7 separate regions of the Homo sapiens genome follow, and regions 1, 2, 3, 4, 5 and 6 are each linked to region 7. Evidence: promoter capture Hi-C in 16 types of primary human blood cells and fetal thymus (Javierre and others, 2016). All regions are on one chromosome and are shown on one strand. Each heading gives the region's core, a stretch centred on a gene start or on the middle of the fragment in contact. The rest is flanking DNA. Distances are from core to core; before and after follow the strand shown. Region 1 overlaps WASHC3 (WASH complex subunit 3). Region 2 overlaps ARL1 (ARF like GTPase 1). Region 3 has its middle 22 kb from the start of ARL1. Region 4 overlaps WASHC3 (WASH complex subunit 3). Region 5 overlaps UTP20 (UTP20 small subunit processome component). Region 6 overlaps UTP20 (UTP20 small subunit processome component). Region 7 holds the start of SYCP3 (synaptonemal complex protein 3).

Region 1 (3,853 bases), core at 360-2,859, 270 kb before region 7:
ACAAAATTTCCACATTACCTATTTTTTTATTAGCCATTTTTGAACTCTCTTCCATTTCTAAGTTTCTCCCTGCAGCTTTCCTGAACATGAAGCATTTCCTTTTCTTTTCATTTCTAGCTTTCCTTTCTCTGTACCTCATGTACACTTGGAAGCTTCAGGGACTTAGCACTGGTCATGCCAGCCTCTACAGATCACATCTCTGTCTATAATTGGGTCTCCATGGTAATGAGAAGCAGAAAGTGCTGAAGTAGCGCACTATGTAAGGACTGGCAAGAGAAAATACTGTCGCGGCCTCTACAGGCATAGCATTGAATCCCCATGGTGCCCAAGAAGCCCGAGAGAAGCACGCTGTGGTGTAGAGCAGGAGACTGAGGACACGGACTTGGCAGATTTATTAGCAGCAATATTCTAAGATGAACCAAATTTAAGAGTTTGTAAGTGCTCTTTTCAATTGGAAAAGACCTTTGAAATTTTTTTTTCTTTTCTTTTAGGAGGCCAGATGCTCCAGTGCCTGATGGCGAAAGTGAGAAAACTGTAGAAGAAAGTTCAGATAGCGAATCTTCTTTTAGTGATTAAGCTTAATTTTGATAAGAATTACATATGCATGCATAGGGGTACATTTACATTCTGTAAGAGATTGAGCCTGAACTCTCTTAGTCATAAAAACATCAAATGGCCACATGTCCACTACCAAGCTTCTTCTATGTTAAAAAAATAATAATAAAGCAGTTTTAACCTGCCAGTATGTCTTGTTGCTAAAATAAAGGGCCTCAAAATGAAAAATAGGATAACCTAAATAAAGTACAATTAGTGCTACAAATACTAAGATAGAATATTTTAGAGATGCAATGAGCAATTACAGTCAGGCACGGTGGCTCACGCCTGTAATCCCAGCACTTTGGGAGGCCGAGGCGAGTGGATAACCTGAGGTCAGGAGTTCAAGACCAGCCTGGCCAACATGGTGAAACCTCCATCTCTACTAAAAATACAAAAAGTAGCTGGGCGTGGTGACAAAAATTAGCTGGGCGTAGTGGCAGGTGCCTGTAATCCCAGCTACTCGGGAAGCTGAGGCAGGAGAATCACTTGAACCCAGAAGGTAAAGGTTTCAGTGAGCTGAGATTGCGTCATTGCACTCCAGCCATGGCGACAAGAGTGAAACTCTGTCTTAAAAATAAAAAGAGATGCAATGAGCAATTTTAAATGAAGTCAGTGTGAGTTTAGTGATCAATAGTAGACCCAATGCAAAAAAAAAAAAAAAACAGTGAATTTGGCTAAGTGAATTATTCAATTTTTGTGAATATTTTAGCATGAAAAGTATATGGATTCATATCATGAGTTGTTAAAGACATTTCTGGTAGAAAGTAATACTGGGTTGAAATTTCTTTGACAACTTAAAACTTACATATCACATATGTTATGGGTATGGAACTTTTTGGTAGTATTTTTTAGCATATGCAGCCTTTCACCACTTGGCCATTAGTTCATGTGTTTTTTAAGTCAGATATTCTTATGCAGTCATGCATTGATTAACAACAGGGATATGTTCTGAGAAATGCGTCATTAGGCGGTTTTATTGTACAAACATTGTGGATTTCATAACAAGTGTACTTACACAAACCTATTGCTTCTAGGCTACAAACCTGCACAGCATGTCACTGTACTGAATACTGTAGGCAGTTGTAACACAGTGGTATTTGTGTATCTAAATGTAGAAAAGGTGCAGTCAAATATGGTTTTATAATCTTAGGGGATGTTGACCAAAACATTATGCAGCACTTGACTATATTTATTAGCAGATGGAAATTGAATTGAAGGTCGTTTCAGTGTGGTTCATAATGAGTAACCATCGTTGCCATCAACTCCTGTATTACCTAAACAAAAAAAAATGTGTGCAGGATTAAAATGTTCTCACCTCACCTTGCAAATAAATAATTATTATTCATAGTTATTTACACACAGTCTAGAAAATTCCTAAAGTACTTATGTGAAAAATATATAAATGCATTTAACTAATTGTGCCCATTTTAGTTTAGTTCACCTGCAAGTAGAGCCTGAGAAAAGGACTTGGGTGTATACAGGTCATTCACAAGGTGATCCCAGAAAACAGAAGTAAAAAAACAGGGAGAGGAAAAGGGAGAAAACCACTTAAAAGTTTATTATCGGCCAGGTGAGGTAGCTCATACCTGTAATCCCAGCACTTCGGGATGCTGAGGTAGGTGGATCACTTGAGGTCAGGAGTTTGAGACCAGCCTGGCCAACATGGTGAAACCCTGTGTCTACTAAAAATACAAAATTTAGCCGGGCGTGGTGGCATGCACCTGTACTCCCAGCTACTGGGAGGCTGAGGCAGGAGACTCACTTGAACCCAGGAGGTGGAGATTGCAGTGAGCCCAGATGGAACCACTGCACTCCAGCCTGGGTGATAGAGTGAGACTCTCTCAAAAATAATAAAAAATTTAAGAAGTATGTTATCAAGATTGCCAGTTGGGGTTTGAGTGCTCCAAGACCCTCTGAGAAGCTTTCAGAATGCCTCCCAAAATTTTCCACCTAATAAAACTGGGAACATTAATTAAGCAATTTCCATCCCCCGTTAGTTGAGTTGCCTCCAGGGGCATTAATTATCCCTGCACTTCTGGGCTGTGCTTCTGTGTGGAAAAGCAGCACCCCAGTGTTGAAGAAAGACTTGGAACAGGAAGCAGAAAGATACATGGCTTCGGCTTGCAGTGGGATTTCACAAGCAGAAAGGACAAGTCCAAGCTTACTCACCTAGAACTATCCATGTAGCTGTGACTGATACCGGAAGTGGACGAGGGAATGTGCAAAAGAGATATTTGCTGCAGTCTACCCAAATGCAGTCAATTCAGAACTGATTGAGTCCCATGTTAAGTCTACTTTGTCTTTTGTCTGTGGGATAACACAAGGTGATGGCCAGCCACAGTCTTTCTAAAATCTACACATGAAGATTAGTGAGACAAGCCACAATTACTGTCACTATGACTGAACGCAAGGCCAAAACTGGTACTTATCATCTTCTTCCACCACCCATTTTACATTTCTCCTGCTCTATATCAGAAATTCCGCTGGTCTAGGCTGGTTGTCAAGCATAGTGACCCAGACCTTCATCCTTTAAGTTTTCTAGGGCTTTGATTGCTTTGCCCTGTTTAGGCTATGATTATCACAGTCATCTGTTTGCTGTTTCTTACCAGGCACTGAAGCACCACGACATGCCCCAGTGAACCACCTGCGTTCTAGACACATTCTTCCTGTTTCATTTTGTAATCACAACCCTAGCTCCTCATGTTAACATATTACTTCCTATTTTTGTCCCACAGACATGAGCAGTCCCAAGGGACCGATTGGCAGCAGTAGATTCAGCTTAGTGGAATCCTTACTGTGCTCCCCCATGGAAGTGTGCTAGTTCCTTCCCCCTACCCCATCTGGGAACTGGGACTTCCAGGAAAGTCTGAGGCGGCAGGGATGGGAAGCACAATTACAAAAGAATGTCACTGAGAATGGTGGAGAAGGATCATTCCTATTTCTTTTCTCTTGGTTCCTGGATCTGTGAATCCTGGCAGCTGAGGACATGGCATCATATGCTAGCCATTTTTGTAGTGCTTTTACCACATCCTAGAGATTAGCACTTCAACCTTGCAGAATGTCATCTCTGAGATGGTGACTACAATGAGCCTATAATAGACCATTTCATTGTTCTATTTGATTGATTTCTTCTGGATGATGCTGTATGCGGTAAGACAAGTGGATCCAACAATTCATGCGCCTGTTGTTAGTCATTTACTACAAAATAATCCCAAGATCTGAGGCAGTGTAATGCGAGATACCATGTTGGTAATAG
Region 2 (3,739 bases), core at 884-3,383, 340 kb after region 7:
AACTTTTTTTTTTTTTTTGAGACGGAGTTTCACTATTGTTGCCCAGGCTGGAGTGCAGTGGTGCAATCTCGGCTCACTGCAGCCTCCACCTGCCAGGTTCAAGCAATTCTCCTGCCTCAGCCTCCTGAGTAGCTGGGATTGCAAGCGCACACCACCACACCCGGCTAATTTTTGTAATTTTAGTAGAGACGGGGTTTCACCATGTTGGTCAGGCTGGTCTTGAACTCCTGACCTGGTGATCCACCCACCTCAGCCTCCCAAAGTGCTGGGATTACAGATGTGAGCCACCGTGCCTGGCCTTTCAACTTTCCTATACACAAAAATGAATTCTAAATGGGTAAATAATTAAATGTAAAAAATGAAAATTATAAGAACATATAAGGAATTCAAAAGATGAGATTTAATTATATTAATGTAAACAAAACTCCCCCAAAGCTCAGATATGGCAAATATAAACAAGATTAAGATAAGAAACCAGGCCTAACCAGAAGCCAATGACTAAGGATTAGTGATCTGAATCATAGCAAGATCTTTTGCAAAATGAGCAAAAGGCAATTCGTAGGGGAAAAACATTGCTAATAACATTTGCATTTGTTTTTAAAGAGACAGGGTCAGCAGGGCGCGGTGGCTTATGCCTGTAATCCCAGCACTTTGGGAGGCCGAGGCGGGTGGATCATGAGGTCAGGAGTTCGAGACCAGTCTGAGTGACCAACATGGTGAAACCTCATCTCTACTAAAAATACAAAAATTAGCTGGGCGTGGCAGCGGGCACCTGTAGTCCCAGCTACTCAGGAGGCTGAGGCAGGAGAATCACTTGAACCCAGGATGCAGAGGCTGCAGTGAGCCAAGATTGCACGACTGCAACTTCAGCCTGAGCAACAGAGCGAGACACTGTCTTAAAAAAAGAAAAAAAAAAAAGAGACAGGGTCTCCCTCTGTCCCCTAGGCTGGAGTGCAGTGGCACAACCAAAGCTTGTTATAACCTTGAGCTCCTCTCTCTGCTTCCTTTTTTGTTTGTTTTTTAAAAAAATTTTTGTAGAGACCCCTGTGTTGCTCAGGCTGGTCTCCAACTCCTGGACTTAAGCGATCCTCCTGCCTCAGCCCATGTGCATTTCGAATACCCTAGTAATATATAATGAGATGCTATGTTTGGAAAAGTAAATAATTCCCAACTCTACAAAGGCTGCATTGAAGATGGAGACTTTTATACACTGTTGGTAGGGTAACCTTTCTGGAAAGCTGTTCATGCATGTATTCAGTTTATCAAAGCCTGAAAAAAACTGTTCATACTTTGACTCCATTTTTAGAATATTGTGTTAAGGAAACAGATTTAAACAGAAATTTTTGTATAAAGACCCTGTCACTTGGGTTTATCTAATAGTCTAGTGGAAAGACTCTAATAAGAGTCAGATACTAGAAAATAGTTAACACAGTTTATGGTGCATGCATCCATAGTGTAGAGCATATTTAGCCATTTTTTTATTTTGAAAAAGTTGTTGTAGTTTGGAGAAACATGATTTTAATTTTTAGGCAGGGTATGGAACTATATATAAATGTGATCTTAAATGTGTAAATGTATTTACTAAATAAACTCTGAAGTATCTGCAAAACAAAGTACTAGTAGAAAACACCTAAAATGTTAACAGTGATCATATTTGGGAGGTAGGATTATGAGTGAAGCTTCTTTTCTTTATACTTCTCTATATAATTTCTATATAATTTCATAATGTGTAATATATTAATTATAAAATACACGTTTAAAATGTATTTTTGGACATTTTCTAAACTCGAGAGAGCACATTAGTTAAAAGAAATTAAATATTTTCAATTTCATTTAGGAAGAAGAGCTGAGAAAAGCCATTTTAGTGGTGTTTGCAAATAAACAGGACATGGAACAGGCCATGACTTCCTCAGAGATGGCAAATTCACTTGGGTTACCTGCCTTGAAGGACCGAAAATGGCAGATATTCAAAACGTCAGCAACCAAAGGCACCGGCCTTGATGAGGCAATGGAATGGCAAGTATCATGCTTCCAGAAGCCATCTGTGCATTTGTGTGTGCTTGCAGCTATGCACGTCCACGTGTAATTTTTCTCCCGTGTTGAGGATGAAACTTTGATTTACTTAGCAGCTTATTTCATAAGTTCCTCAAGCGTTTTCTCTCACTGGTCTTCAGGTGCATCTGTCTTCTCAACCACACCTACCTGATTACAGTTACTTAGATAAGCAAATTCTTTGCCAATTTTTAGCCTTTTCCCTGCCTCACCTCACCCTCCAATTCCTTATCCTTCAGGAATTAGCTTAAGACTCTCTTCTGAAGAGCTTTTCCTAATGTATCTCTATTCCTACTGCCTAATCACTCACTTAAAGTTAGATGCCCTTGTCACAGATTAGTGACATAGTACTTGTTTTGCTGTCTTGTAAGTTTGATTTGTTCATCTACTCATTAGATAATCACCTCCTTGAGGATTGAGACTAGTTTCACCTCTGAGTCATCCATATGTAGCCCAGAAGTAGTAGTAGCCTGGAAAATAGGTATTTGGTCTTTTTTGAATTTTTCATTCAAATCATAGACAAATTCAAAGCTTAGAGGAACCTTATGGATATCTAGTGCATAACCTCATCTGTGTTAGCTGTCATCATTTTAAGTACTTTGGAATCCACCTCCAATACAAAGTTTATTATAGATGATCATGCTTTATACCTGAAAATTAATTTTATAAAACAGTTCATTTTCTCTTTACAGGTTAGTTGAAACATTAAAAAGCAGACAGTAATTCAGTCCATTCTTCTCCCCTGAAATGAAGACTACATCACCTCTCTCCCTTTGGAAACAGTCAAGTGTACTTCACACTACTAGATGTTAAAACTATATGATTATTGGCATATACTGACTGACTGCAATATTTGTAGTAAATAGGGAAAATAAGTATTTAGTTGGAGGGATAATTTGATCGAATCACCTGAATGTTCTATGTAATGTAAAATATTCTTTTCTTGCTTTCTTGTGTTAAGGTATATATTCTATTTGTATGGAATTCTTATTCAAATACAGTTCTATTAAAGAGTATACTCCTATTGGATGAAAAAAACCTATTTTTGAATAGTAGTTGCAGCTTGTTTGTATAAATACTAAAAAATATCTTAACAGATTTTTTTCCCCTTAAAATGAATTATCTTTCCAAAGATTAGACTCAGTATGAGAGTAGGTGAGGAACATAGTTTGTGTAATATAATCTTTATTTGCTTACCTGACCACTTTTTATTAAGCTGTTTTGTTTAAAAGCTTTTGGTTATAGGCATGAATATTGTTTTGATGGTTAACTTCACTGACTTATCTGTAAGTGTCATTTTATAGTACTTTACAGTTGTCAAAAAAAATCTTACATATATTGATCTAGTTGATCGGTAGAGGAAGCTTGTGAAGTAGGTAGGACAGGTTATGATGTCTTCACTGTATGGACGTGAACCCAGGGTTCTAATAGGTTGGCTTGCCCAAGGTCACCTGCTAGCTTGTAAGGTAGGAATAGGGCTCAAAGTAAAACTTTTGGTTCAGAAGCTTGACTCATAAACTATACTATATATTCCCAAAAATGTCAGTATTGACAACACAGTCTAACTCTTAAATAAAATTATGCTAATTAGTTACATTCAAAATAATGTTTATAAATTTATTTGTCTATACTAGTAGAAGTGATCAGTGACATACTATAAATAATCCTAAATGGTTATATTTGATAG
Region 3 (3,712 bases), core at 500-2,999, 310 kb after region 7:
TGTAGATATAGGATAAAACAGTATATATAGGGTTCAGGATACTATCTGCAGTTCCAGGCACCCACTGGAGTCATGGAACGTATCCCCTGCAGACACGGGGGGACTATGCAATGCGGTTGAAGCAAACAGCATACTGACTGGCCCACAGTAAGCGCTTGATAAATGTTAGAAGGAAGTACATGTAATGAACATTCAGTGCACACACGATAAGAATCTGTGGGATAAAGTAAACATTTGTTTTCCTTTTTGAAAAGTGTGGCTATCTTGTGACAGATACAGATAATAAAACCCATTTAGAGATATTCCATTTGTCTAATCAACAGTCTAGTAATTGCCAGTCACTGGTTGAGGTTTAAGCCTCTCAAGGATGGCAGCCATTGAGAGTTGACCCAGGTGTGGAGATGCAAGCTGCAAATGGCAGGGCTTCACGGCCGTCTGGAAGAGACTTTGTTACCTCCTTCACCTACCTGTGTTTTCTGATGCTCTTAGTATTCTTAGTTTTCCCATGTCTCAATTCACAAGATGGAAAGAACTACGGACTGAAGAAGAGAAGAGTTCAAGTTAATGAGCAGGGTGACCTCAAGGCCACAGCATCCCCAGTTGTAAAACAAGGAGACTGGAACAGATGATCTCCGAGGTTCTTCTGGCTCTAAGCATTCTATAAAAATGCCAGGCCTGAGTCAGCCCTTCTGGTCTCTATGAATTCTGTATTCTGTGTTGCTCTATTCTGAAGAACTGAGATTACAGATGACAGAGAGCTTTGCAAAACCAGAACTAAAGATGACCTCCTTCCATAAATATTTTATCAGAAGCTAGAGAACTACATAAATGAAAAGATAGTTAAAAGTGAATATTAATGTCTGTCTTCTGAGAATCTTCACTTTACTTTGTGAAGAGAAGTTTCCATCAGAGGTATGTAAACTAAATTAAGAATAGAAATTCTTTAAAGAAAACAAACTTAAATGACTAAAATCTGTTAAGAATAAGATTCATTATACTTTATAGCTCCTATTCAAGTGATACATTACTTTATTAGGTGTACTCATTTAGCTTATATTTTCCAGCATTTTCAGAAATATTATATGTTTTGCATAGTAATGATTATAATGCTTTACATTTGTGGAGCTAATACTTTACAAGTTTACCAAGAGATTTTACAGTAAATTTCAATTATAATGACTTACAACCAAAATATTTATCTGATCAAAAATTTGGTAATATGTAATATAGTTACTTACTCTTGTCAAAAATTATAAATTTATATTAGGGTTAAAGTGTATTTTATACAACAAATATTGCAAGGTGGTTAAAACGCAGCTGTTCAATAGAAATGCAAAGTAGGATGGTAGGTTCTGAAATGCTTCTACGTTTTTTCCCACAGTTGTGAGTTAAGCAATATTCAAAGAACTTCCTTATTTTAACTTTAAGATTAAAACAACTTCTCTATATCAATAATAAAGATTCTTTGTCTTTCAACAGGCAGAAAGTCCACTTCATTATTTGGTATGCAGCATGATATTTAGTATAAAGCAGATTGTTTGACCAAGCTGTTGAAATCATGATATAATAACAAATCATACTCTATGGACAAATCTTTTATGCAATATGATGCTAATTTCTCATGCATAATATATTGTGTGTATTTGGCTTTGAAAAGTGAGACAAAAACAGCAGTAGCAAATGCCAGTGTTTCAGAAGCTAAAGAGAAATTTGAAATTTAATATCAACATTTATTTTTAATATCGTTAACTTTTGAATGGATCAAATTATTGCTTAGCTTGGACTGCCTCATTTGAATAGGCTGGGGAAATTCCAAATTGGCAGTTTCCTCTATGTTCTGGAAAACAATTTTATAAAATACTGAAACATTTGATATCTCTCTGGAGCACCAATGCTATAGTAAATTATTCATTCATTCATTCATTTATTCAACAAAACTTGCAACTTACTATACCTGAGCCACTGTGGTAAGCCTCCTAGGAAAGAAAAAAATATATATAACTGGTTACTTGTGTACATAATGATAAGCAACAATTAATAGTTGTAGGTGATTAGTGTAACATTCCAAGTGCCAGCAATGGATACTATAATATAATAAAGATGGGGGGAATTGGGGAACTAGAGTAGTAATGGAAGGCTTTGCCCAGGAGAAAGAGCTTGAAAAGGTGAGTTGGATTTATATGGAGGGAAATGAATAGAGAAAGCATCTCAGGAAAGAGAAGCAATATACAGAACTTTATAGCATCAGTCATGAAAAAGACAATAAATAGACCAGAGAACATAGAACTTCGTAATTACTTCAATAGTTGTCTTAGTCTGTTTTCTGTTGCTTAAAACAGAATAACTGAAAGTGGGTAATTTATAAGAAAAGGAATTTATTCCTTATAGTTATGGAGGCCGAGAAGTCCAAGGTCAAGGGACCATATCTGGTGAGAGCCTTCTTGCTGGTGAGGACTCTCTGCAGACTCCCAAGGCTGTGCAGGATGTCTCATGGTAAGGGGACTGAGTATGCTAGCTCAGGTGTCTCCCTTTTCTTAGAAAGCCACCAGTCCTACTCTCATAATAATCCATTAATTCATGAATCCGTGAATCCAGAAATGGATTAATTCGTCATGAAAGCAGAGCCCTCATGGCCCAGTCACCTCTTAAAGGCCCCACTTCTCAATACTGCCACACTGGGGATTAAATTTCAACATGATCTTTGAAAGGTAGAAAAAGGTACAAATATTCATGCATTAGCATCCCCTGGGAGCTTGTAGAAATGCAGAATCACAGTCTGATTGTGCATGTTCAAGGTCTTTGGTGCTTTTTTTGTTTGTTTTTTTGTTTTGTTTTTTTAGAGATGCAGTCTCGCTCTGTCACCCAGGCTGGAGTGCAGTGGCACCATCTCGGCTCACTGCAAGCTCCACCTCCAGGTTCACGCCATTCTCCTGCCTCAGCCTCCCGAGTAGTTGGGACTACAGGCGCCCGCCACCACGCCCAGCTAATTTTTGTATTTTTAGTAGAGACGGGGTTTCACTCTGTTAGCCAGGATGGTCTCGTTCTCCTGACCTCGTGATCTACCTGCCTCAGCCTCCCAAAGTGCTGGGATTACAGGCTTGAGCCACCTCGCCCGGCCAGGTGCTTTGTATGTAGACATTAAAGTCTGAGGAGTTTCACTCTTGACCAATCCTTCATTTTGCAGAGGAATCTGAACCACAGAGTGGCTGGATGGCTTTCCCAATGGTAATGGCAAACCTCACTATAGAAGCAAAATCTACAGAGTCCTGGAAACAGTGAGTTTCCCCCCGATTCCACAATGTTTGACTGAACTGGAGAGAGGTAGTCAGTTGGATCTGATTATGGAAGTATCTGAATGCTAAGTTAAGAAATTCAAGCCTCATCCTTCATGAATTCAACAAACATTTATTGAACTCCAGTGTGGTAGCACTGGAGATACAGAGAAGAATAAGAAAGACGCTGCCCTTAAAAAGTTAGCCTTCTAAAAAAGTAAGTAACTGCTATTATTTAAATGTTCCTGCCAAAACTCATGTTCAAATGTAATTGCCAGTCGGGCGCGGTGGCTCACGCCTGTAATCCCAACACTTTGGGAGGCCGAGGTGGGCGGATCACGGGGTCAGGATTTCGAAACCAGCCTGGCCAATATGGTGAAACCCTGTCTCTACTAAAAATACAAAAATTAGCTGGGTGTGGTGATGGGCGCCTGTAATCC
Region 4 (3,978 bases), core at 197-2,696, 300 kb before region 7:
TGTAAAATTTTTAAACATACACAAAAATAGACCTGGATTCACCAGTTTTCACAATTGCTTCATCTATTTTTTTGGTCACTTGCTGAAATTAATTCCAGACATCTTGTCATCTCACCCTGCATAAATTTTTGAGCATCTCTGAAAAGTTTTGACATTTTCTTTTGTAACATTTGCTTATATAAATGCCTTTATCATATACAGTGTAATTAACAATAATTGGCCAGGTGCAGTCACTCAGGCCTGTAATCCCAACACTTTGGGAGGCTGAGGCAGGTGGATTGCTTGAGCTCAGGAGTTCGAGATCAGCCTGGGCAACATGGTAAAACCCTATCTCCACTAAAAATACAAAAATTAGCCAGGTGTGGTGGCACGCACCTGTGGTCTCACTACTCGGGAGGCTGAGGTGGGAGGATCACTTGAGCCCACGAGGCAGAGGTTGCAGTGAACCGAGATTACACTACTGCACTCCAGCCTAGGTGACAGCGCAAGTCCCTGCCTCAAAAATAAAAAATAAATAAATAAATAAAACATTCTCTGGTATTGTCTAACCCCTTGTTACTCAAGTACACGCCATGGACCAACCACATGGGCATCACCTGGCAGCTTGTTAGAATGAAGCATCTCAGGCTCCACCCCAAAACTGCTGATGAGAATCTACATTTTAACAAGACCCCTAGGTGATCTGTAGGCTCTTAAAATTTGAGAGCTACTGATCTTAGAAATACCAGTGTGTTTTTGAAGATGATTCGTTTGAATCAGCATCCCAGTAAAAGCTATACTTTACATTTGGCTCTTAGATCTTAACATTTACTTATGCTTCTGTATGAATTTAAATTTTCTATTACTTTTTATTTCAAAAAATAAAAATTCTTTGTTGTTTGAGAACAATCTCTAGTGTATCTCAGCGAGGTATTAAAATCTAAAACAAAGTAATCATCAAAATGGTGGCCTACCAAAGTAATAATAATAAACAAATAAAACAAACAGATTTATAAATGGAATTCTGCCTTTGTACCTGGAGGCACTTTTCACAGGATATTTTTTAGATCACGATGATGTTGACAGTGATGATAACAGCTAACACTTCAAGAGTGCTTTCTGTGTACCAAGGCATGCACGTTTCTAAGTGCCTTTCATAAACTAATTTAATCTTTACAACAGCCCTATAATGTAAGCACCATATTATCAATCTTAGTTTATAGATGGGTCAAATGAGGTATATAGAGGTTAAGTAACTTGCTGAAGGTCGAAAAGTAACGTAAGAGCTAGAATTTTAACCCAGACAGTCTGGTGCCAAGAGCCCTAGCACTTACCTGCTTCACTACACTATACTACACTACACTACACTGTTTTCAGTACCTGTATTCAATTTATTTAAACATATTGAGGATGCGTGGTATGAGGCCCTGTAGAAAGAGCCATATATTTAGAATATAGTATATATTTGGGTAATAAATTAGATGATCATTTACTTAATTAGATATTATAAAATTTAACATCCATTTATTTAATATAGCAAATTTCATTATGGCCACTCAAATATATAAAATGTGCAAGAGGATATCCAGATGTTGTAGAGGAGTTTAACTTTACATTCTCTCAATTAAATATGACTATCCTCTTTCTAAAATAAAGCGTCTATAAAGAATATTAAGAAAATATTTCCACACTACCTAGTAGTTATTATGTGGTAGATAGAGCTGTCATATATTTCTGTAAGATTTTTAAGTATACCTGTCTAACTTTGATTATTAATTTTTCCAGGTGCTATTATGAATGCCATCTATAATATGCCCTTTAAAATTCTTATGCAGTTGTGTTTGTCCTCACATATTTAATGTCCCAAAAATTGATTACCAGTAATCACAGCTGAATTTCTTAATTTGCTTTGCAAATTCAGAATAACCTGGTATATCTCTGGCAATTTTATTTAAAAATTGTATATGTATTTATTTAGAGGGTTTATGAAGTTCTGTTGGCTTCCAAAGTTTGAAATACTGTGATAAAATTGTGTGTTGATTAGCTTAATAAAATAACTGCTCAGCATGTTCTTAATATTCACATCAACTTCTCATTTATTCATTGTTATTAATTGGTATATTTTATACAAAATATTTTGAAGTGGGCTTAAGTATTGCTTAATCCAGAGTTTTCATTGACATTATAGTCAACTCACTTATCAGACAAAGGAGAATAATGCACTTTTTAAAAAAATCATCTGTTTATCACTCTCTCTAATCTATACATGAGTCAAAGACCCAAGGTTTGTGTACTGATTTTTCTGCAACTTTAATTTCATGGTTCAGATTTCATCATTATTCACAATAGAATATCCAATTGTGCAGAGTGAGATTGATTTGAGAATAAATGAAGGACAGTTGAGAGATATGATAGAGGATTTAATGGGTCATTCAAATAGCAAAGGTGTAATACATTTCATAATTAAACCTTGTTGAGGTCTTGGTTATTAGGCAAAAGTTAACGACTGAGAATTGATATCTGGCCAGGATGTAGTTCATTTGCACCATTTTGCTATTATATGAGTTTAATTTCCATAAATTGTTAAAAAACATACTTGGTTATTGTTTTAATTTTTTATTTAATTAACAGTGTTTTGGAATTTTTGTATTTGTATTATAGATGAATATGTGTGTGTGTGTGTGTATATATATGTATATATATATACTCACTTTGGTAAAACTTAGCAATATCATGTAACAGAAGAAACCTAAAGGATTTTTGGATGTTTATTTGCTTTGTAGTTTTTGACAGATTTAATTTATATTTGAATTATCTGAGGAAAAACTTCAATATGTAATTCACATTCATAGTCTAAAGACTATGAAGATATAAAGATATTGATTTATCTACATTTCAGAATGAACAATAGACATAAAATTGATTTCTTCTAAGGAAATTCTTTTAATGCTTATATACAGATAATGAGAGAGATTCACCAAAGTAAGCTTTTTCTAAATGTTTGGTTTGATAGAAAAATCAAGTACTGTATACAGGCAGTTCTATCTAGTTTTGCATTTAAGCAAGGATATGGTTCTCATATGCACAAGTTTCAGTAACATGGTACCATGCAAAATGAAGACTGCCTGTATAACAATAGCATTTTTATCTAAAAAGACCATTCCCCAGTATTCTTTATTGTAAGTCATATTTAGTATGACATTATGACTTTTAACCACTCTGTAGACAATGTTACCATTAATAGTTCCATCAGTATCTGAAATGTATAAAACCAGATAATTTTGTCTGACAAACTGGCTTCTCTTTTACAACTTCTCCAAAAATTGCTTTCTAAAAGTTAGAAGAGCCATGTCCACTTAGAATAAAATGATTTAATAAATAAAGGGCTCAATTAGGTAGATTCTAGATACCTAGGAAATCAATTCATCATTATCTCAATAAATTTATTATTAATTTGTAAACAGTTGATAGTTTTATTAGCTTTCTTAAAAGTTTTGTTAAAATAGTATCACCACCTATATATAATTCATGCTTTGTATCAGCACTCTGGGGACAAGTAAAGCAGAATTTTTATTTTAATGCATGAATATACTTGCATTTTAAGGAACCAATATAGTGTTGAAATGTAACCTTCTCTGAAATGATATTTAAATATTTGTAGATATTTGGAAACATATCTCATATTAAATTATTGGTATTTAAATTGGGGGAGATGATTTTTTTCTGCAATTTACTGCCTTAGAATTATGGAAAGAAACATTCCTTTTAAGTAACATGATAGACCCCTTTTGTAAATTGTCTAAAGATTTACACCAAATACTCTCTACAGCAGAACAGTACACAAGACTCTGGACTACAGGAAAGTGAAGTATCAGCAGAAAATATCTTAACTGTAGCCAAGGATCCAAGATATGCCAGATATCTCAAAATGGTTCAAGTGGTAAGCTAACTTGGTCTGTCTTCTTTGTGTAGCAGCCTCACTTGAAATTCTTAACCCTG
Region 5 (3,741 bases), core at 1,179-3,678, 370 kb after region 7:
AAGATACAAAAGGAAAAGACATACTCATTTCATGTGTTTTGCTGCAGATGCGTGGAAGCAGATTTGACGCTAAAGCAACCACAGGACATTTTCAAACACAAGAAAGTATCTTCAAAAGAAAAAGGATAGACACTTAAGCACAAAGAACACACAACCCTTAAACATAACACTTCAAATGGGTAAAAATGGTGAATTTTTTAAAATGGTGAGTTTTATGTTATGTACATTTTACTAAGAAGAAAAACATATAAATAAAAACAGAATACCTGTATTTGTACAGAATTCCCCGGAAATGTTAATACAGAGCTCACATTTAAACATTTTTCATAAGCAAATGTTCACCTGTAATTGACCCACCAAAATCATAATAATCTTTACAAATTACTCAATTTCAGAAGTCTATGACTAGTCAAAACACTATGATCTATGTGTTCAAAATATCTGCTGTGAAACTCATAAACCGTAACAGTCAACATTCTGGCGACAGCATACCTTCAGAAGACCAAAGGCAGTGGCTTGTCTTGAAGTATCATAAATGTCCTCCTCAGCATAGGCCAGTAGAACTTGGAGCTGTTTTTCAGTTATCTGGTAAGACTTGACTTTCTTGACAAGTATGGTCACACACTGCAAGTTACAATAGTGATGTTAACAGCCAGCACATCCCACAGTTGGGATCCAGTGAAATGACAAGGACTTAACACAACACACAAGTATGCTTTTCCAAACAGGGTGCCAGCCCTCTAGCCTTGGCAAATTACTCTGGAAAAAATTTTGGCCATAACCACAAAGGGCAATGGGGAAAACTAACTTTGATGTTAATCCTGGTTCTAGCTTTTTATGAGTCAGGGTCTCGCTCTGTCACCAAGGCTGGAGTGCAGTGATGTGATCATAGCTCACTGCAGCCTCTAACTCCTGTCAAGTGATCCTCCTGCCTCAGCATCCCAAGTAGCTGGGACTACAGGTACACATCACCATGCCCAGCTAATTTTTTTTTTTTTTTTTTATGTAGACACGGGGTCTCGTTATGCTGACCCAGCTGGTCTTGAACTCTTAGGCTCAAGTAATCCTCCCACCTCAGCCTCCCAAAGTGCTGGGATTATAGGTACGAGCTATTGCATCCAGCTCCATCCTGGCTTTTTCCAAGGGCAAGTGAAGACATCTCACCTTGAAACAATTGACCACAAGGTGGAAGTTCTGGCCCCTGGCGGCCCCGAGCTTTGCATAGTCCTTCAGCAGAAGGAAGAGGTGTTTTGTCAGCTGCTCTGCTTTTGTTTCTATGGAAGGTAGCGGGAACCTCAAGACCCAGATGAGGCACTGTAAAGCACCTGTGATCACCTGAAAAAAACAAAACAAAACACCACCAACTTGTGATGTGACCGAATCCAACTATGCAGCACCTGAGGCTATGCAGACTCTTTAAATGATTGTGCTGAATAAATAAGATGCTAAGCGCAGCCCACTCTGGAAGAACTGTGCCCAAAATGTAAGAAGATAAAGACATTTACAATTCCTGGTTGTAGAAGAATTTATTGCTTATCCGTAACAATGGATCCTTATGATGGTAGATCATGAGGAAATAAGAAAAGGCACCATATTCTTTTTACAATTTAATCTTTGTTTAAACATTTTTGGGCTGGTCTTGAACTCCTGGGCTCAAGCAATCCTCCTGCCTCAGCCTCCCAAGTGCTGGGGTCATAGGCCTGAGCCACCATGCCCAGCCATATTTTTAACCTACTTATAGGGGTTTATGGAGGTTATATGATTTGGATAGGTTGGTCAATTTTACAATTTTTTTGGAAAAATACATCTTAAATGACTTTTCTGTTTTCTAGAATGGTACTTTAATGTAATCTACTCTTACTAAGCTTGAATTAGGTATACAAGGCACTCTACTGGGTATTATAAATACAAAGATAAAAAGGATACCATCTCTGCATTTATGCAGCAGACAGTTAACTCAGAAATCAGGCACGGGAACAATTGACTATCATTTAATATAGTTAAGTGCTATGGCAAAAGACATGGAAAAAGTGTGCTGAGATCCCTGAACCTCTAAGGCCAAACCTTTGAAAGCACCGGGATCAGCTAGTTCAGCTCCATCTAATAACACCCGTGCTGCTCTGGCTGCTGAGAACTCTTCAGTGGGCTGGATTAAGACACAGAAGAGCGAGCTTGGGAGTCGGAAAGACCTTGGCTTACATCCCAGCTCTGCAACTGATTACCTGTTTGACTCTAGAGATGTTACTTAACCTCTCGGCACCTAGGTTCATAGCCTAGATCTGTACCTAGGCCCTCGCCCTAATTTTCTCATTTATAAAACATAAATAGTAAGAATATATGCCTCAGGGGTGGTTGTGAGGATCAGAAATAATGTTCTTGGGATTCATAGCATGGAGCAGTAATAGTGACAAAGGTGATGATGATGATGATTGGTAAGGGGACAAAATCATTCACCCTCATGAAGTTGTGAGGATCCAGTGACATACTTAAGGTACCTAGGAGGGCTTTTAGAACTGTTAAAGGCTATCCAAATTTATAGAATTAGTAAATTGAGAAGTGATTTAATGTAGCAAATAGTGGTGGTTCACGATGTCATAAATCTCTTTAAAAACTCAATAATCTCGGCCGGGCACGGTGGCTCATGCCCGTAATCCCAGCATTTTAGGAGGCCAAGGAGGGTGGATCATCTGAGGTCAGGGGTTCGAGACCAGTCTGGCCAACAAGATGAAACCCCGTGTCTACTAAAAATACAAAAGTTAGCCGGGCGTGGTGGTGTGCGTCTGTAGTCCCTGCTACTTGGGAGGCTGAGGCAAGACTGAGGCAAGAGAATCCTTTGAACCTAGGAGGTGGAGGTTGCAATGAGTCAAGATTGCACCACTGCACTCCAGCCTAGGTGACAAAGTGAGACTCTGTCTCAAAAAAAAAAAAACCCAAAAACCCCAAAAAACCCACCAACCAAACAAAAACACCTCAATCATCTCATAAAGCTTGAGCCCAAATACAACCATTAGGTATTCTGCAAAACATAGTTCTTCTGAAGAAATAAATGCTCCAATGCAGAGTGCAAACCGATGCTTACCTTCACATCCATGGAGCCCAGGCAGTCTATGAGGAGAGACACAAAAGGATCCAGCATTTCCAGGACACATTCACCTGAAGACTTGATCTTGGAAGTCTTCAGACTCAGATGCAGCAGCTAAGAGAGTTCAAACAGGTATTTCACATTAGTTGCCCATTAGACCAGATGAGTTAGGTAAATGTGAAATGATGTTCAGAGAAAAGCAAGAAATGTTAAGATACTTCTATTAGAAATGATAAAACATTTTTAAGGAATGACAAACTGCCTGGGAGGGTCTCAGTAAGTCAAAGTGAGAGCTCGCTGTGCAGCTGAGATGCTACCACTGTTTACCAGTCAATTTTCTCAGCATCTACTGTGATTCCAGGCACTGGCTCAGTACGCAGGATATGGCAATAACCAGGATGGACATGGTCTCTGTCTTGATGGATCTTAGCTAGACTCTAAGGAAATGATGATGTGTACAGGTAGGGTGCTTTGAGAGTTCTGTGGGAATCTTTGTAGAGCAAAGAGTGGGTGGTGAGTTCCTAGGGCAGGAAAGAGTATGGTGACTTTCTAGATGGGAAGGGAAGCCAGGGTGGCTGGAACGTGTGTTAGAAAAATGCGAGTCAATGAAGGGTTTTAAAAAGGAAATGATTAGATTTATGCTTTTAAAAGCTCACCGT
Region 6 (3,850 bases), core at 939-3,438, 420 kb after region 7:
GCATATCTGAACCAGCTCCTATTAAGGAAACAGAAGCCCAGTGGATCTAAAAGACTTTCTCTATCTGATAGAACTACACAGTAGGGGGCTGGACCAAAAGCAAACCTGTTAAATCCCAATCCCATGATCTTTCCAATTCTCATCATTCCAGAGCTGGTGAGATGAAAGATTTAAGCTTCATTTTTCTTTATACCCAGCATATATAAACTTTGTATTATTTATGGATCATCTTTTTGCTCTACCATTTATAATTAAAGGAATAATAACATCATTAAATATCACATGATATTTGGAAAACAGAGTGAAATATTTCTACTGTATCTCAACAGTAAAATTTAGGAAAATATTAAATTTAATTATATTATTGTCACAATAATACTATGGTAAGATCTTCTTTATATTAGGGCCCAGGCGCAGTGGCTCACGCCTGTAATCCCAGCACTTTGGGAGGCAGAGGCGGGTGGATCGCCTGAGGTCAGGAGTTCAAGACCAGCCTGGCCAACATGGTGAAACTCTTTCTCTACTAAAAATACAAAAATTAGCCAGGCATGGTGGCGCACGCTTGTGATCCCAGCTACTCAGGAGGCTGAGGCACAAGAATAGCTTGAACCTGGGAGGGCGGAGGTTGCAGTGAGCTGAGATCACACCACTGCACTCCAGCCTGGGTGACAGAGCGAGACTCCCTCTAAAAAAAAAATAAATAAAGATCTTTCTTTATGTTAGGAACAAAATTTAGTCTCTATACCAATTTGGCTTCTCCCAAAGGTACAATTCAAAAAAAAAGCAGCTGGCGGTGATGGCTCACATTTGTAATCTTAGCACGTTGGGAGGCCAAGGTGGGAGCATCACTTGAGCCTGGGAGGTCTAGGCTGCAATGAGCTGTGATCATGCCACTGCACTCCAGCCTGGGTGACAGAGCAAGACCCCATCTCCAAAGAAAATGCAATCAAAAGAAAATAGAAAATGAAATATTCTATTACAGTTGTTGAAAGAACCATAATACTGTACTCACAATTGTGTTTGTTATTAACTTTTTAAAAATCAGTGTTTGAACAGCATAAATACCTCATCAGAATAGGAAATAGATCTGCTCGGTGGGCTGTTTTCACTACAGCATTATCTTCTGAAATGCTAAAATGCACTATCTCTTCCTTAAAGCTTCTGTCTTCAAGCAACCTTTGTAAGTTTTCCCTTTAAAAACAGAGAACAGCACAAATCACCACTTTATCAACAGTGCTTTTGAATAATGAAAGAGTGAAATATGTACACAGAGTAATAACTAAAATAAGGTATATAGTACATATTATGGTTGATATCCATAAAGGAAAATCCTCAAAAAAATCTCCTAAAATGACAGATTTGTACATTTCAAAAGGTATAACGGATTAGAAAAGATTAGATTCTGTCCATAACTCAGCTGTTTAAAAAAGCATGATACAAAAAGCTTTCCTCAGTTCTTAGAGTGACTTTGATTCTCTAAGTAACCACCAAGATTCTATGGCATTATATTAATAAGAAGAGGAAAATGACATAATATTTACAACACAGTTTTAAAATTAACATTCTCTATTTTAGTATCATGGAGAACAACCCAACAAATATACTACTCGTTTTCATTTCTTGCTTGGAAATACGATGACCTCAGAAAAAAGGGAAACTTTCTAGGCCTTTAATAAATTATTCTAGAAGAGGCTCTTAGGCAGAAATATAAAAATCAGCTGAAGAAATAACAGTTCTTTAAGCTTCAAGTAACTTACCTGTAAGGGAGGACATGAGGATGTTTATATGTCATTATGCAATCCAAGGTTATTTTTTGCACCATTTGATCTTGGTGTAGCAACAACTAAGAACAGTATTTTACAGAATTAATGAAGTCATATATACATATACCATAGGATAGCAATTTACTTGTGGTTATTTGCTAAATGAGATTTGAAAAATTCTAAATTTTTACACAAGACCTAAACCTGATTGCTAACAACAGCTTCACATTTTCCTGGAAGTAAAAAAAGATGAACAGAATATATGCAAAGTAAAAATGGAAACAAAACTCTCTGACACCTGCATCCCACAGTCATACCCTGGGGTCTACCAGCTTTTGGGTGAGGCCAATCCTCTCTCTCTTTCTCTTTTTTTTTTCAAACAGAGTCTTGCTCTGTTTTCCAGGCTGGAGTGCAGTGATACGATCTCGACTCACTGCAACCTCTGCCTCCTGGGTTCAAACGATTCTCCTGCCTCAGCCTCCCGAGAAGCTGGAACCACAGGCACCCACCACCACACTTGGCTAATTTTTTTGTTTTTGGTAGAGACGCAGTTTCACCATGTTACCCAGGCTGGTCTCGAACTCCTGAGCTCAGGTGATCTGTCCGCCTTGGCCTCCCAAAGTGCTAGGATTACAGGCGTGAGCTACTGTGTGCAGCCTGGTGAGGCCGATTCTCTATGTGAATCTGGATTTAAGCCAACTAGGCTGGTCATGTACTAAGGAAAATCTCTTATCCTATGAAGGTAATGATAGTCAATAAGATGCCAGAAGAAACATCCAAATGAAAAATGAAAATTTTGTTTCCCCAGATGGCTTAGAATTACATCCAATGCTTACTTCATTTCTGATATTAATTTTTTTCTGCAAGCTTATCTGAAATTCAGGGCCACGTAATTATGACTGCAATGGACTACAATAGATCCTGAAATCCCAGTCCTCTATGAAGTCTGACTAAACTAGAAGGGAAAAGTAGTCACTTGTTTTTTTGTATAAACCCTACTCCCTTCTAAAAGCTAATTTCCATGATATAATTCATGCTTTGCTATTCTCACTGTTGACACAGCCAATCAATGTTTAGTCACCCAAAATGCCTTCAAAATCAGCTAAGTTAGTGCTAAAACTGTTTCTCAAGATAACAGAAAATATGTCTATTAATTAAAAAAAAAAAGGCTTTAATACTTAAAATGTAGACATGGGCCCTATTCAGCAATTATTGAAAATCTAAGCTACTCTGACAAAGAAAATGATAGAGAAAAGTTCACAAAGAATTATAATGCCAAGAGTTTATTTTACTGACCTGAAGATATAACTCATATAGTTTGGATTCCAGATATAAGGCCCGTGGATTTGAAAATTTAGAGAAAACTTGCAAATGAGCAATTAATTGCCTAAACAAAAACAAAACAGAGAGTGTTACAGAATTAAAGAATTGAGATCATTTTCTTAAACTGACATCTACAATTTTATTCTGACTAGAACTTCAAACACCCCGCCTATAGTTTCACTATTATATAAACAAGGCTTAGTTATTTACATTTAGGAAATTATTCTCCAGAAATCCCATATTTTGGGCAGGCCTGTCCCTAAAATTCAGGTTCTCCACACCAAAAAATCATTCAGTGTGTGCTCAGAATGGTTTAAATTGAACAAAAATTAGAAAGTAACCAAACTAGTAAAATATTCCAAAATTAAACTCAGATGATTTTTGGAATTATTCCTTGTCTAGGTTCTATGTGGCAGACAGGAAAGTAGTAGAATATATTCTCCCTCACTTTATTATAATGTAAATACAGATGTCAGGCAACAGAGGTCCAGGTTAAGGCAACCAATGGCTGTTGCTCACCAACAAGGAAGAAGAAATATATCTGAATATTTTCAGACTGTGGTTGACCATGGGTAACTGAAATCGTGGGAAGTGAAACCATGGATAAGGGGAGAGTATTGTATAGTGACATGAAGGCTGGCCATAATCTTTCCTGCCCCTGTGCTTCATACACTATTTCTGTTAGTGGACAAGACTTTCTTGGTTCTAGCTGTCTGGCAAACTTTCATCTTTCAGCATCAGAGAGCCTTCCCTGGGTCTTTTTT
Region 7 (3,541 bases), core at 853-3,352:
TGTAAGGGTCACTGTAGGAAAAACAACTGAATATGATGATGTAGTGAATGGAACTACTTAATAAGAACAGCATCTATAAGGGTATGGAGGCATAAGAGTGCACAGCACATTTGGGAAAACGCAATGTGGCTGATGCAGTATGAGGCCAAGAATGAGGCTGGCAAGAGAGGAAAAGCAGGATTCCAATTGGGACCAATTGTCAATCATAAAAGCCACCATTTATGGCACATTTATTATGTGGCAGGTACTGTACTAACGCTTTACAAACTTTTTTGAATCCTTTCAGTAATGAAAAATTTACAAGGTTCACTGTATCCTGTATCAACAGGTTTGATGTAGTGAATGGAATTACAGGAACAAGTCTGGGAGTCGTCATCCGTCATTCCTTACCCAATACACTGGTGTATTTAAACGAGCCAGTGGAATGCTGAGCATCATAAGGAAGAGGATTCAAAGCAAAACAGTAAACAGGAGGGTTCCTTTGAATCTCTTACTTGAACTAGGCAGTTGAAAAGTGATTGGCGTCAATAAGATCCTGAAGCCTTTGCCAAATATTAAAGAAGTAAAATATAGGCCAGGCAAGTTGGCTCATGCCTGTAATCCCAGCACTTTGGAAGGCCGAGGTGAGAGGATCATTTGAGCCTAGGAGTTTGAGAACAGCCTGGGCAACATAGTGAGACCCCATCTCGGCAAACTTTTTTTTTTTTTTTTTCTTAATTAGCCAGGCATGGTGGCACGTGCATGAGTCCCAGCTACGCAGGAGGCAGAGACAGGGGGATCATTTGGGCCCAGGAAATCAAGGCTGCAGTGAGCCGTGATCATGCCATGCCACTGCACTTCAGCCTTGGCAAGAGAGCAAAACCCTGTCTCAAAAAAAAAAAAAAAAAAAAAGTAAAATGTATGATTTCAAATAGAAAAAGGATTGCAGAGCTGTGAGCAAACTAAGGCAGGTACAAAGGTTGAAATATATTTTAAAATTATTTGGGGGAAAATACATATAAGCACAGAAAAAAGGATGAAAGGCAATAATACCCCCAATTTTAAACTGTATATTATTTCTGGGTAGTGGGATTATAGGTGAGTTTCATTTCCTTCATAAATTGTATCTTCAAAAATTGTTTTGCAATTGATAGGTGATTTCCAGTTACACCAAATAATTGTTTTACAATTATACTCCCACCCACTGAATGGGTTCCCTTTGTTACATAGATTCATCATCACTCCGTGTAGTCATATTTTGTAGTTTTGCCATTCTAGTGGACTGTCAGAACACTACATAGACTATGGGACAATTTTTTGTAATGCCAAACGCGAACGAAACTAAGCCGTGTTGTTTAACGACACATTTTCATGTGGTAATAAAACTTAGAAAATAAGGAAGGGTGAATGATTTACATAAATTTAGGATAATTTTCTTATATCCCTGAATGGGGAAGGGTGGGGTCCTGGTGAGGATCGGATGGAAAGGCCTGCCTGAGGAGATTCAGTGAATGTTGGTAAAGCCCTACTTCATAAATTAGGTGGTATGTTCATCATGTTTCATAATTTACATATTATTCCGCAATTTTCTTTTTTTTTTTCTTGACATGGAGTCTCACTCTGTTGCCCAGGCTGGAGTACAATGGCATGGTCTTGCTCACTGCAACCTCTGCCTCCCGGGTTCAAGCGATTCTCCTGCCTCAGCTTCCCAAGTAGCTGGGATTACAGGCGCCCGCCACCACGTCCGGCTAATTTTTGTATTTTTAGTAGAGATGGGTTTCGCCATGTTGGACAGGCTGGTCTGGAACTCCTGACCTCAAGTGATCCGTCTGCCTCGGCCTCCCAAAGTGCTGGGATTACAGGTGTGAGCCACTGCGCCTAGCTGCAATTTTCGATTATAAACATTTAAAACTTAAAAACTGGAAGGCACCAGGCCTCAAGTGTACTCGCAACCCGCTCCGGCGGCCAAAGCACCCTGGGCCAGCTATTTGGGCGCGCAATCGCCCCATGGGGGCGGAGCCTCGCCACCCAGTTCACGCCTGCGCTCTGCGTCCAGCCAATCAGCGACGTGTCCGGATGAGGCGGGACTGGCTTTTCTCCTGTGCGAATCCCAGCTTGCCTCAGAAGCGTCGCGGAGAAGGGGCCACCTCAGGTGAAGCGCGCTTGTGGAGGAGTTGTGGAGGACGCCTGTCGACGACCAGTAACTGGTCCTCGGCCATTGCGGTGTGTTTCAGGTGTGAGCAGGGGAGGCGTCTGTCTATCGCAGGTGTCCAGGCCAGAGGCTGCCCTTGACCAGTGAGGTAAATCTTACCTCCTGGCGTCGCCTGGGGCCTCTGACGAGAAAACGGAGGCCGCGAACCTGAGGACAGGGCCTTGAGCAGGATAGGGCCTAGTGGAAAGCGGGCGGGCTGGGCTGGGGCTGGGCCCCATCGCTACACCCTGGGACCACTTACAGGAGGGACGCGGCGGGGCCGGGCAGGGCCCTACCTCGCTCCGCGCGTCTCCCTCCTGCCCGCTCCACGCCGAGGGCGCCTTTCGTGGTTCCTCGATGTATTTGTTGTCGAAATCTTCTGCCTGTGTTCATTTTCCGAGACCTAAATTGCGGGACGTTTTTATTATTTGTCTTGATTATTATGAGCTTATTTCTGGCATCCTCATGTCGTGTCCCGCCAGCAACTATAATTTCCCCGCGTGACTGAGCGCCCTGCTAGAGTTGCCCAGATTTAGCCAGAATCTGGCAGAGGCGGCCCCAAAATTTGGAACTCCCAGGCCTCAGGGGCCACCTCTCCAGCACTGCGCGCTTGGAGTCGGGGTGGACACTGTCATTCTCTCTCATCGATTGATTGATTGAGACGAAGTCTCACTCTGTCGCCCAGGCTGGAGTGCAGTGGGGCCATCTCAGCTCACTGCAACCTCCGCCTCCCGGGTTGAAGCGATTCTTCTGCCTCAGCCTCCTGAGTAACTGAGATCATAGGCACCCGCCACCGCGCCCGGCTAATTTTGTATTTTTAGTAGAGACGGGGTTTCACCATGTTGGCCAGGCTGGTCTCAAACTCCTGACCTCAGGTGATCCACCCACCTCGGCCTCCCAAAGTGATGGGATTACAGGCATGAGCCACAGCGCCCGGCCATTTCTGTTGTTGTTTTTTTTTTTTGAGACGAAGTTTCACTCTTGTCACCCAGGCTGGAGTGCAGTGGCTGCGATCTTGGCTCACTGTGACCTCTGTCTCCCGGGTTCAAGCGATTCTCCTGCCTCAGCCTCCTGAGCAGCTGGGACTACAGGCACGTGCCACCACGCCCGGTTAATTTTGTTTTTTTTTTTCAGTAGAGACGGGGTTTCATCATGTTGGCCAGGCTGGTCTTGAACTCCTGACCTCAGGTGATCTGCCTGCCTCAACCTTCCAAAGTGCTGGGATTTCAGGCGTGAGCTACCGTGCTTGGCCTATTTATTTTATTATTTTTTAACAAATGTCATTATCTTCTTAACTTTTGGCCCCCCAAATAAATGAGGAAACTGTTAAAATTGTATTCAACAATCCTTGTTCGATATCTCCTTTGATAT

What was found. The method cuts DNA at HindIII sites, captures the fragments that hold promoters and counts their contacts. A CHiCAGO score of 5 or more calls a contact.
Region 1: a contact is called between a fragment that was not itself captured here and the fragment with the promoter of SYCP3 in region 7, in 1 of 17 cell types (neutrophils). The highest score is 5.0, in neutrophils.
Region 2: a fragment that was not itself captured here is called in contact with the fragment with the promoter of SYCP3 in region 7 in 14 of 17 cell types (M1 macrophages, M0 macrophages, erythroblasts and 11 more); the score reaches 15.1 in M1 macrophages.
Region 3: a contact is called between a fragment that was not itself captured here and the fragment with the promoter of SYCP3 in region 7, in 11 of 17 cell types (M1 macrophages, M0 macrophages, M2 macrophages and 8 more). The highest score is 19.6, in M1 macrophages.
Region 4: a contact is called between a fragment that was not itself captured here and the fragment with the promoter of SYCP3 in region 7, in 1 of 17 cell types (neutrophils). The highest score is 10.5, in neutrophils.
Region 5: a contact is called between a fragment that was not itself captured here and the fragment with the promoter of SYCP3 in region 7, in 3 of 17 cell types (total CD8 T cells, M1 macrophages and M0 macrophages). The highest score is 7.4, in total CD8 T cells.
Region 6: a fragment that was not itself captured here is called in contact with the fragment with the promoter of SYCP3 in region 7 in 1 of 17 cell types (monocytes); the score reaches 5.6 in monocytes.

The regions. Positions count from the first base shown.
Region 1 is chr12:102,009,831-102,013,683 of GRCh38, reverse strand. It overlaps WASHC3 (WASH complex subunit 3), which reads left to right. Exons shown (of 7, transcript NM_016053.4): 7 at 492-844. The coding sequence ends at 576. Among named protein-coding and RNA genes, the nearest start is that of DRAM1-AS1, 48 kb to the right of the region's middle. The HindIII fragment of the contact is 1,823 bases long and covers 698-2,520 here.
Region 2 is chr12:101,394,676-101,398,414 of GRCh38, reverse strand. It overlaps ARL1 (ARF like GTPase 1), which reads left to right. Exons shown (of 6, transcript NM_001177.6): 5 at 1,838-2,016; 6 at 2,745-3,739. The coding sequence ends at 2,775. Among named protein-coding and RNA genes, the nearest start is that of ARL1, 11 kb to the left of the region's middle. The HindIII fragment of the contact is 904 bases long and covers 1,682-2,585 here.
Region 3 is chr12:101,428,333-101,432,044 of GRCh38, reverse strand. No RefSeq gene overlaps it. Among named protein-coding and RNA genes, the nearest start is that of ARL1, 22 kb to the right of the region's middle. The HindIII fragment of the contact is 5,381 bases long and covers 1-3,712 here.
Region 4 is chr12:102,039,809-102,043,786 of GRCh38, reverse strand. WASHC3 (WASH complex subunit 3) reads left to right here. Exons shown (of 7, transcript NM_016053.4): 5 at 3,809-3,919. Among named protein-coding and RNA genes, the nearest start is that of WASHC3, 20 kb to the left of the region's middle. The HindIII fragment of the contact is 3,045 bases long and covers 1-2,968 here.
Region 5 is chr12:101,367,315-101,371,055 of GRCh38, reverse strand. It overlaps UTP20 (UTP20 small subunit processome component), which reads right to left. Exons shown (of 62, transcript NM_014503.3): 48 at 3,080-3,196; 49 at 1,165-1,335; 50 at 493-624. Among named protein-coding and RNA genes, the nearest start is that of ARL1, 39 kb to the left of the region's middle. The HindIII fragment of the contact is 1,122 bases long and covers 1,868-2,989 here.
Region 6 is chr12:101,318,845-101,322,694 of GRCh38, reverse strand. UTP20 (UTP20 small subunit processome component) reads right to left here. Exons shown (of 62, transcript NM_014503.3): 23 at 3,060-3,150; 24 at 1,758-1,843; 25 at 1,066-1,191. Among named protein-coding and RNA genes, the nearest start is that of UTP20, 41 kb to the right of the region's middle. The HindIII fragment of the contact is 888 bases long and covers 1,745-2,632 here.
Region 7 is chr12:101,738,023-101,741,563 of GRCh38, reverse strand. It overlaps SYCP3 (synaptonemal complex protein 3), which reads left to right and starts at 2,102. Exons shown (of 9, transcript NM_001177949.2): 1 at 2,102-2,213. The HindIII fragment of the contact is 5,223 bases long and covers 1-3,541 here.